Linked DNA regions of Homo sapiens: region 1 is linked to region 2. Evidence: promoter capture Hi-C in 16 types of primary human blood cells and fetal thymus (Javierre and others, 2016). All regions are on one chromosome and are shown on one strand. The core of a region is centred on a gene start or on the middle of the fragment in contact, and the rest is flanking DNA. Distances in the headings are between cores, read along the strand shown.

Region 1 (5,422 bases), core at 2,923-5,422, 830 kb after region 2:
CTAGACCGGGGTGGGCCCTGCCAGGAGTGGGCCTGAGCCTCGCACGTCCTCTGAAACTACGCTATGCTCTGCTTTTGCGGCGCGATGGGCGTGGGAGCGGGGGCTGCCCAAAGATGGGCTGGGGTTGGAGGAAGTGGCCCGGTAGCCGCTGTGTGTCCTGAGGCCGTAAGGCGCCTGACCCCACCCCTGAAGCTGGCGACGGAGCAGGGCCTGTTTTCTCTACACTATAGTGTAGGTTCCAGAGACCTGGGCCTGAGCTCTCCGCATTGGTACTTCATGGGTCGTCTGGATTGTGCCGGACCTGTGACCCTGCCGTTGTTTTCTTTCCAGCATGATCCGCTGGGCCCCCAGCGCATCTCCTGGAAGAGCCCACTCACCCTGGACGAGCTCTTCGGTAGCCTCAGACCGTCCTTGAAGAGGATGACTGAGACATTATGGGCCACGCGCTGTGTGTCTGCTCTCGGGGAACTGTCATCATTGACAATAAGCGCTACCTCTTCATCCAGAAACTGGGGGAGGGGTGAGTGTTTGGAAGTCAGTTAACTAGTCCTCAAGTTTATGATCATTGAAGGACAGCGGTGTGCATATGCTTGGGGCACAAGGGTTTTATCCCTATCCCTGTCCTCTCTCACCTGACAGAACCTAGCTACACAGTATCAAGAAGGTGGATTCTGGAGCCAGGCCTGCTAAATCCACCTCGTGTGACCTTGATAAACCATGTTTTTTTCATCAGCTTAATGGAGATGATTATTATCCCTCACTGATGGAGTTGTGAGGATTAAATGAGATAATGTGTATAAAATGTCTCACCCAATGCGGGGTTGACAAGTACTTGATAAGTGTTGGCTATTATTTATTTAGCATCTGTCAAGTGCAGAGGTCTCTATTACGACCATAGGACCTCAAAGATTTCTATATCTCTGCTCCTGAGGAGCTCACGGTGTAATATTCTTCAGATTTCTCTTAGAGCCACATCTTGGGAAGGTTTCTGCTAAATGGGAAGGACACCCCACTCCCCACCAGGAAATTTCTCTAGGTCCAAGCCATGTGGGAGATGACCATGGCCCTTTATTGACCCCTTTGGCCCACAGTGGGTTCAGCTATGTGGACCTAGTGGAAGGGTTACATGATGGACACTTCTACGCCCTGAAGCGAATCCTGTGTCACGAGCAGCAGGACCGGGAGGAGGCCCAGCGAGAAGCCGACATGCATCGCCTCTTCAATCACCCCAACATCCTTCGCCTCGTGGCTTACTGTCTGAGGGAACGGGGTGCTAAGCATGAGGCCTGGCTGCTGCTACCATTCTTCAAGGTCAGAAAGACTCCTGGTTATGGAGGGGGTTGCAGCAGAGCCACCTACTCAAGGGCTGTGTGAGCAGTCCAGCATGTTAGGAAGCAGGGACCATGTCCTGGGTTTGGCCACTTTAGATTTTGAGTTTGAGGTGTGTATCATGAAAGGGCTGATAGGCTTTGACATAGGGAAGGGATCAGGCCTAAGGAGCAGAGGCTCCAAAAACATCTCCAACTGTAGGGAAACTTGTGTTGCAGAGAGGTACGCTGTGGAATGAGATAGAAAGGCTGAAGGACAAAGGCAACTTCCTGACCGAGGATCAAATCCTTTGGCTGCTGCTGGGGATCTGCAGAGGCCTTGAGGCCATTCATGCCAAGGGTTATGCCCACAGGTCAGTGGGAGGACCCTGTGTGCTTGCTGGGGCCCAGAGGAAGAGCCTCACCAGGAGACATGGGAGGTCTCTGTTCTCCCAAGAAACAGCCTGTATGATTCTTTTGCTTGCTGGGATTCCAGCCTTCCTGTCCAGAGATGCTCATAGGTCACTTCTACTTCTCTACAGAGACTTGAAGCCCACCAATATATTGCTTGGAGATGAGGGGCAGCCAGTTTTAATGGACTTGGGTTCCATGAATCAAGCATGCATCCATGTGGAGGGCTCCCGCCAGGCTCTGACCCTGCAGGTAAAAGAGTCTCCAGGTTCCTTTTCTCACCTGTTCCCCATTCCCACCCCTTCTGGTGCATGTCCCAGTTTGGTCACATGACCATGACCTGTGCCCCACTTTTGAGCTCTGGGATCACTGTTCCAGGACTGGGCAGCCCAGCGGTGCACCATCTCCTACCGAGCCCCAGAGCTCTTCTCTGTGCAGAGTCACTGTGTCATCGATGAGCGGACTGATGTCTGGGTGAGGAGCATGTGGGTGGGTATCTGGGTAGGGAGGGCTGTGGCTCTGTACCCACCGTGGAGTAGAGTAGGTTGTTGGTTTCTGTTGCATGGGGCGCCAGGAACCACAATATGTCCCCATCCACTTCAACTTCCTTCCTGGGAAATGTCACTGATACTGTACCCAGTTGTACCGGATGTGGTATAATCTGTGCCCCTGAACAAGGTGAGTACAGCTCAGTGTCAGTAGTGAAGGCACTGGCTAAGCAGGGGCTAAGCTAAACAGGGGCTGCGGAGGCCTCCAGCTGACTGGCAGTTTCTCTGGACCCTGGTGGTGCCATGTGGCTGAGGTCAGCGTATTCTTTTTAGCTTATGGAGTCTCCTTTTACCACAGAAGTAAAGGGAGAGATGTCACCTCCACTGGTCCCCTTCTAGGGACTAATCAAGTTATGCTCAGTCCCTAGGCTGCGTGCTATATGCCATGATGTTTGGGGAAGGCCCTTATGACATGGTGTTCCAAAAGGGTGACAGTGTGGCCCTTGCTGTGCAGAACCAACTCAGCATCCCACAAAGCCCCAGGTGAGTGAGCAACGAATAGGGCATCAAGTGTTTCAGACTCCCCCCTGGTATTAGCTGAGTTGACAGATAGGTGTCATCCGGTCACCCTGGGCTCCTCCCTCCACAGGCATTCTTCAGCATTGCGGCAGCTCCTGAACTCGATGATGACCGTGGACCCGCATCAGCGTCCTCACATTCCTCTCCTCCTCAGTCAGCTGGAGGCGCTTCAGCCCCCAGCTCCTGGCCAACATACTACCCAAATCTGAAAAAGCAGCATGTTGAGAAGATGGCCCCTTGTGCCTTGGAAAGAGGTTCCCATCCCTCATTGGAATCACCACCCATTCCATCCAGGACTTCTCTTACACTTGGGGGTAGCGGGGTCAGGACAATCATCTCAGTCCTGCATCTTTTCTTCTGCTTTCTTCCCTCCAAGAGCAAAACCTGGGCAAGGGGACTTACTGAGTGGGGGTGGGTGGGGGTTGGGAAAAGGGAAACTGGTGGGATATGGAACATGGCTCTGAGCAGGACTGTTGAGCTCACATAGTGTTCTGACTCCAAATCTGGGAGCAGGAGAATGTGTAAACAAGAATAAAGTGGAAGCAGGTTGGTGTAGATCTTAGTCTCAGTGTTCCTGGAGTGAGAGAAGAGGTGCAAGGGGCCCAAAGTCAGGTTGCCATTTCAGGCGAACTGCCTGGGAAGGAGGAATGGTGCAGAGTCGGCAATGGTGTGACTTCATTCTACAGGAGGTTGGTTAGCAGTGGACAGTTCTAGCTTGTCTTAGATCAAAACTTAAAGCTGCTTGGGCTCAAGCTGGCATCTGCCTGTGTCAAGAACTAGGGCCCCCTAAAAACACTCAACTAGTTCTTTCCTTCCTTCACTCCTGGGGTGAGTAGCTTAGTCAAAGCTGCCTAGCCGGTTTGCTAGGCAAGGGCCTCTGGGTGGAGACACCTGAGGAAGCTTTGAGACAGGTAGATTACAGGTCTCCCATCCTCAGCCTAGGGGCGAGGGGAGTGGAGGTGGCAGCGGCAGCTGTTTTGGCCTGTGTCTCCCTGATCGTTCAAGCTCATACATGGTTAATGATTAATGAGGCAGTGTGGTGTGGCAGTATCCAGCTGCCACTTCCTGCCTACTCTGCTGAGTAAACAGGGGCCCTGTCTTAGCTGGGCTTCAAACCTGTTCCCTAGGGAAGGGCTCTGTTCCCTGAATCACCAGGGAGGAAAGGCAAGGGCAGGGTTGGCATCTCCTGCTCTTTTGTGATCCAAGCCTCCTCCCCCGAACCATGTCTACCCCACAGTATGACATCAGCATGGGGCCTGGGGCTCCTGTTAGCAAAGTTGAAGCTTTCCCCAGGGCCCTAGCAGGAGTCTCCCACTAGCTAGCACAGAGGCTGAGGCCAGAAAGAAATCACAAACAGAGGGGAGATGACCTGACTTTTAATGGCACAGCCCCAGCTCCAGCAAAGCAGCAAGACAGGAAGCTATGCAAAGCTGCTCAGAGGTGCAGTGGCACAAACAACTCTAGGAGATCGCCTGTGTTCCCTCCCATCCCCCAAGCTTATGACGTGGCTCCATGCCCAGGAACTCTGGGCCAGCCCAGCCCCACTCCCAAACCCTCATAATGCACAGAGGAGCCTGGGCCAAGCCTTGCTTCCAGAGTTGGTAAATGTAGAGGCAGCAGGAAGAACAGGGTAGCAGTCTAACTTTCAAAGACAGAAACCACTGGATTATACTCCTACTTGGAAAGGAGCTGAAGACTCATCCTTCAACAGTTTGTGCCTGGATTTTGGTCCTCATTTCCTCCCTATACTGAGTAACCCTAGGACTTCAATTTAAAGTCCCTGGGGTTATGCTTCCTGGGCCTGGCAAGAACCCCTTTGCAGGTCTCACCTTCAGCGATGGAAGGGATAAGGGTCATGAACAGCAAACAGAGCAGCAGCAGCATGAAGGGGAAGGCAGCAGAAGCTCAAGCACTCAGAGGGAACAAGAAACCGTGCAAGGAAACTGTTTATTTCGAAAGGATTTTGCAATAAACATAGTGAATAGGCTCCAGGCAGCTGCTTTATTCTTCTCCCTCATCCTCGTCCTCATAGGAGTCGATGCCCACCTCCTCATAATCCTTCTCCAGGGCAGCCATATCCTCACGGGCCTCGGAGAACTCACCCTCCTCCATGCCCTCACCCACATACCAGTGCACAAACGCCCTCTTGGCATACATCAGGTCGAACTTGTGGTCCAGGCGGGCCCAGGCCTCGGCGATGGCGGTCGTGTTGCTCAGCATGCACACGGCACGCTGCACCTTGGCCAGGTCACCCCCAGGCACCACAGTGGGAGGCTGGTAGTTGATACCAACCTTGAAGCCTGTGGGGCACCAGTCCACAAACTGAATGCTGCGCTTGGTCTTGATGGCGGCAATGGCAGCGTTGACATCCTTGGGCACCACATCTCCACGGTACAGCAGGCAGCAGGCCATGTACTTGCCGTGCCGGGGATCACACTTTACCATCTGGTTGGCAGGCTCAAAGCAGGCATTGGTGATCTCTGCCACCGACAGCTGCTCGTGGTATGCCTTTTCTGCAGAGATGACTGGTGCATAGGTGGCCAGGGGGAAGTGGATGCGAGGGTAGGGCACCAGGTTGGTCTGGAACTCTGTCAGGTCCACATTGAGGGCCCCGTCAAAGCGCAGAGAAGCTGTGAT
Region 2 (5,685 bases), core at 2,566-5,065:
CCCAGCACTTTGGGAGGCCAAAGCAGGTGGATTGCTTGGGCCCAGGAGTTTGAGAGCAGCCTGGGCGACATAGTGGAAACTCTGTCTCTACCAAACAACAACAACAACAAAAATTAGCCAGATGTGGTGACGTGTGCCTGTGGTTCCAGCTACTTCTGAGGTGGGAGGATCATTGAGTCCAGGGAGGTCGAGGTTGCAGTGAGCCATAATCACACCAGTGTGCACTCCAGGCTGGGTGCCACAGCAAGACCCTGTCTCAAAAAAAAAAAAAAAAGAAATTGCAAAATAAGATATATCATATGACAGTTAAAAATATATGCACATAGGCCAGGCATGGTAGCTCACACCTATAATCCCAGCATTTTGGGAGGCTGAGTCAGGCAGATCACCTGAGGTCAGGGGTTCGAGAACAGCCTGGCCAACATGGTGAAACCCCGTCTCTACTAAAGATACAAAAATTAGTCGGGCATCATGGCGGGCACCTGTAATCCCAGCTAACTTGGGCAGCTGAGGCAGGATAATCACTTGAACCCAGGAGGCAGAGGTTGCAGTGAGCCAGGATTGCACCGCTGCACTCCAGCCTGGGTGACAGGGTGCGACTCCATCTCTCTCTCTCTCTCTCTCTCTCTCTCTCTCTCTCTCTCTCTCTCTCTCTCTATATATATATATATATATATATATATATATATATGAACATGCAGACAGACAGGTATCTACCTGTACTGGACAATGACTTGAAAGAAATATTCCAAAACAATTCAGTGACAGTGATTTATCTGGAGAATATCTCTATATTGAAAATATAGGTGAGTTTTTACCTTCCTTTTTCTTGTCCTTGTAATCGAGTGTATCTCTCTCTCTCTCTCTCTCTCTCTCTCTCTCTCTATATATATATATATATATATATATACTCCTTTTTATTCACAAGAAAGTGTTATTTTTTTCATAACCTGTGACATAGGAGGCAGGATTATATATTTTTATTTTTATATTTATATATGTGTATATTTTTCAAAACAGAGCCTCACTTCGTCACCCAGGCTGGAGGGCAGTGGCACAATCTCAGTTCACTGCAACCTCTGCCTCCCGGGTTCAAGCAATTATTGTGCTTCAGCCTCCCTTGTAGCGGGGATTACAGGTGTGCACCACCACACCCAGCGATTTTTTTTTTTAAAAGAAACAAAATAGCAACTCCAGTGTTTACTCCTCTTTCCAGACAACACATGAGCGTGTGCACACACATATAGTGCACACATGCCCACATGTGCGCAAACACACAGCAGTCTCCCTTTATCCACCAATTCAGGTACCTCATAGTCAACCATGTTCTGAAAATACTACATGGAAAATTCTAGAAATAAACCATTCATAAGTTTTAAATTACACAGTATTCTCAGTAGCGTGATGGGATCTCCCACCGCCCCACTCCATCCCACCTGAAACGTGAGTCATCCCTTTGTCCACTACCTCCACATGCTGCATGCTCCCTGATGGGCATTTAGCAGCCGTGTGGGCTATCAGATCCACTGTCATGGCATTGCAGGGCTTGTGTTCAAAGTAACCCTTATTGGGCCGGGCGCAGTGGCTCACGCCTGTAATCCCAGCACTTTGGGAGGCCTAGGTGGGCGGATCACTTGAGGTTAGGAGTTTGAGACCAGCCTGGCCAACATGGTGAAACCATGTCTCTGATAAAAATACAAGAAAAATTAGCTGGGTGTGGTGGTATGCACCTGTAGTCCAGCTACTCGGGAGGCTGAGATGGGAGAATTGCTTGAACCCAGGAGGCAGATGTTGCTGTGAGCCGAGATCATGCCATTGCACTCCAGCCTCGGTGACAGAGCGAGACTTCATCTCCAAAAAACAAAAATAAAGACAACCCCCCACCCAAAGTAACACTTATTTTACTAAATAATGCAAGAGTAGCGATGCTGGCAATTTGGAAGTGCCAAAAAGAAGCCATAAAATGTTTCCTTTAAATGAAAAGGTAATAGTTCTCAATAAGGAAAGAACAAAAAACATCATATACTGAGGTTGCTAAGATCTATGATAAGAATGCATCTTCTGTTCATGAAATTGTGAAGAAGGAAACAGAAATTTGTGTTAATTTTGCTGGTGTACCTCAAACTGCAAAATGCAGCCACAGTGCAGGATAAGTGCTAATGAAAATAGAAGGGGCTTCAATTTGTGGGTGGAAGACACGAACAGAAACATGCTCCAGCTGATGGCAGCCAGGTTCGGTACGATCCGAGGTTTTAAGGCATCCACTGCGGGTCCTGGAATGTATCCCCCGTTGGATAAGGGGGGGACTACTGTACATTTGGTCTCCAGAACTCTTGGGAGGCTGTGATGAGAAGGACGTACTGCCCTCACCCAGCCCACTTCACGTCACCCTCCTAAGGACCAGGCTTCACAGGTGATAGGAGAATTTCTGCAGTCTGGGAGGCAGCTGCCCAAGGTGCTGAGTTTGCGTGTGAAGCTGGTTTCTCAGCGAGATCCACGCTGGAGTTGGCTGCACAACTTTCCTGCCTGAGTGAGATGGATCCCCTAGGGTCAGGGGTCAGACATGGAAACCTTGGCTTCTGGGAGAGGGTAGCAGAACAGAGTTCAAAGGCACTGGTTTATGGCATCTCATAAAAACTCCAGGTGGGCCGGGTGCAGTGGCTCACGCCTGTAATCCCAGCACTTTGGGAGGCCGAGGTGGGCGGATCACGAGGTCAAGAGTTCAAGACCAGCCTGGCCGACATGGTGAAACCCCGTCTCTACTAAAAATACAAAAATTAGCTGGGCGTGGTGGTGTGCGGCTGTAATCCCAGCTACTCGGGAGGCTGAGGCAGGAGAATCACTTGAACCCAGGAGGCGGAGGATGCAGTGAGATGAGATCACGCCACTGCACTCCAGCCTGGGCGACAGAGACAGACTCCATCTCAGCAAAAAAAACGAAAACAAAAAAAACACTCCAGGTGGAGCCAGTGCCCCTAAGGGTGGAGAGGAGGAGCAGTTGTGCTCACTGGGGCCCTTGCTAAGTGAGGGTCATGCTGAGAAGAGACCTCTAGGAGACCTCTAAGAGACCTCCCATCTGTTCTGGAGGGGCCCTGAGTATAAGTCCCTGCATTCCTGGGTTTGGGGCTTCTGCAACCCTAGAGTCCTGCCTCTCTTTCTCCATGAACCATTCACCCCAGGGCAGGTGGGAGGACAGCTGAGCCTCCTTCTCTTGGTTGGTAGGAGGAAAGGTTCAGGCGCCGCTGACCCTACCTGGACAGTGCTGTCTGCCTGTGGTGAGGGCCTGGGCCCTGGGCAGAAAAGCACCCCATCCCTTGCTCACTCAGAAGCCAAGGGAGGGGCTGGGCGCCGGGCCTCACACCTGTAATCCCAGCACTTTGGGAGGTCGAGGCAGGTGGATCATTTGAGGTCAGGAGTTCAAGTCCAGCCTGGCCAACATGGTGAAACCCTGTCTCTGCTAAATATACAAAAATTAGCCAGGCATGGTGGCACATGTCTGTAGTCCCAGTTACTTGGGAAGCTGAGGCAGGAGAATCACTTGAACTTGGGAGGCGGAGGTTGCAGTGAGTCGAATTCATACCACTGCACTCCAGCCTGAATGACAGAGTGAGGCTCAAAAAAAAAAAAAAGCCAAGGGTGGGGCACATCAGCTCTCATTGTCAGGCTGTGGAGGGCTCTGGGCTCCCAGGGACCTGGCAGCACCTGCCTCCCCACCCCCTCACCTCTCTGGGGCCCTATCTTCCCTTATATGGTGAAGGCAGTTCCTAGAGGAGGGGGGGTGGGGACAAAGGTCGCTCTTCTGCAGCCAGCTTGCCACAATTCCCTGAGATCTCCCAGGTGGCAGCTGCCTCCCCAAGACAGGTAAGGCAACCTGGTGGGAACACATGGAGACCTTAGGTGGTGCGAGGGGACGGGGTCCTCTGCTTTTCTCGGGCAACTTGGGGCCTCCTGGAGCACCTTGGTACGGGCTCGAAGGGGAGGCTTGACACTCTGGATAGCGTGAGAAGTGCTGGGAGCCCAGTGTGTCTGCCCTGGGCCTCCAGGGAGAGACTTTTGCAGGCCCTGCCCCAGACAATGGCTCTCTCAGTCTCCTACCTGTGGCTAGCCCCATCCCACTTTGGGTGTCACCATCCCAATTGCCCTGGAACTTCTAGAGTTAAAACCAGGACAGTGCTGGGCAGACCGGGACTAGTTGGTCTCCCTGACCTCACTCCCCGAGCCCCCTCCCCACCAGCTCATCTCTTTGCCCGTGCGTTCTTCATCTGAAGTGTTTTTTTCTTTGTGTCACCATTCCTCTGACACTCCTGGGACCTCCGGGTCCTGCCTCCTGGCTCCTAGCATATGAGCAACAGCCACCAGCAATTGAATGGGCACACACAGAGGCAAGGGCAGAGGCAAGGGGCTGGAGGTGGCAGGGCCTTAGGTCCTGGGCCATGCCGGGCCACCCTAGCATGCACCTCTGCCCCATCTCCCCTCTACCCGGAGCTGCCCCATTGGCCTCCCCAGCCACTGTGGGCCCATTCAGCAGAACTAGGAATGGGAGCTAGCTGCAGACCAGGCTCTGAGGACACACTGGCTGCTGTCTTCTCGGGACATCATCTGCTGGGGCAGAGCCTTTGGGCTGGAGGGTCTTGGCGGGTGTCCATTCCCTCTTCTATCATGAGCCTGGGAAGCAGGAGGATGTCCTTTGTCTGAGGGGTGGGACTTCACCCCCACTGCCCCACCACATTCCTGTCCAGCTCAGAGCTGCACGACTGGGAACTAGGAGCCGTGGCAGCACCCCACTTACAACAGAGCCGCAACTCAAGTACAACAGGGCTCAGATAAGAAAGGCATGGTGGGCCAGGTGCAGAGCCTCATGCTTGGAATCCCAGCACTTTGGGAGGCCAAGTGGGGTGGATCACTTGAGGTCAGGACTTCAAGACCAGCCTGACCAACATAGTGAAACCCCGTTTCTACTAAAAATACATAATTAGCTGGGTGTGCTCGCGCACGCCTATAGTCCCAGCTACTCGGGAGGCTGAGGCACGAGAATCGCTTGAACCCAGGAGGCGGAGATGACAGTGAGCCAGAATTGCACCATTGCACTCCAGCCTGGGTGACAGAGTGAGACTCTGTCTCAAAAAAAAAAAAAAAAAAAGAAAAGAAAAAAAGAAAAAAGAAAGAAAGGCAAGATGGACCTGCAGACAGTGGGAGCCCAAACCCCTCCAGTGCCCTGGGAGGGTCCTCCTTCCATCCCACAGTTCAGCCTTTCAGCATCATGAGTATTTGTTTTTTTTTTTTTTGTTTTTTTTTTGAGAAGGAGTCTCACTCTTTCATCCAGGCTGGAGTGCAGTGGCGTGATCTCAGCTCACTGCAGGCTCCACCCCCTGGGTTCACGCCATTCTCCTGCCTCAGCCTCCCGCGTAGCTGGGACTACAGGCGCCCACCATCTCGCCCGGCTAATTTTTTGTATTTTTAGTAGAGACAGGGTTTCACCGTGTTAGCCAGGATGGTCTTGATCTCCTGACCTCGTGATCCGCCTGCCTCGGCCTCCCAAAGTGCTGGGATTACACGCGTGAGCCACCACGCCCAGCCCATGAGTATTTGTTGAGCACCTACTATGTGCTAGGAGCTGGGGGCTGCAAAGACAAACATATCTAGGTCTTGGAGCTCAGGGACCTCCAACTTACAAACAGGTTATTT

What was found. The method cuts DNA at HindIII sites, captures the fragments that hold promoters and counts their contacts. A CHiCAGO score of 5 or more calls a contact.
Region 1: a fragment that was not itself captured here is called in contact with the fragment with the promoter of VIL1 in region 2 in 1 of 17 cell types (non-activated CD4 T cells); the score reaches 5.2 in non-activated CD4 T cells.

The regions. Positions count from the first base shown.
Region 1 is chr2:219,245,566-219,250,987 of GRCh38, forward strand. It overlaps STK16 (serine/threonine kinase 16), which reads left to right. Exons shown (of 8, transcript NM_001330213.2): 1 at 1-231; 2 at 331-520; 3 at 1,092-1,311; 4 at 1,548-1,681; 5 at 1,850-1,970; 6 at 2,097-2,192; 7 at 2,628-2,749; 8 at 2,856-4,772. The coding sequence starts at 435. The coding sequence ends at 2,994. TUBA4A (tubulin alpha 4a) reads right to left here. Exons shown (of 4, transcript NM_006000.3): 4 at 4,145-5,422. The coding sequence ends at 4,787. Among named protein-coding and RNA genes, the nearest start is that of STK16, 2.8 kb to the left of the region's middle. RefSeq lists enhancers at 1-177, 1-55, 4,418-4,507, 4,548-4,667. The HindIII fragment of the contact is 213 bases long and covers 4,067-4,279 here.
Region 2 is chr2:218,415,308-218,420,992 of GRCh38, forward strand. It overlaps VIL1 (villin 1), which reads left to right and starts at 3,816. Exons shown (of 20, transcript NM_007127.3): 1 at 3,816-3,861. The HindIII fragment of the contact is 19,335 bases long and covers 1-5,685 here.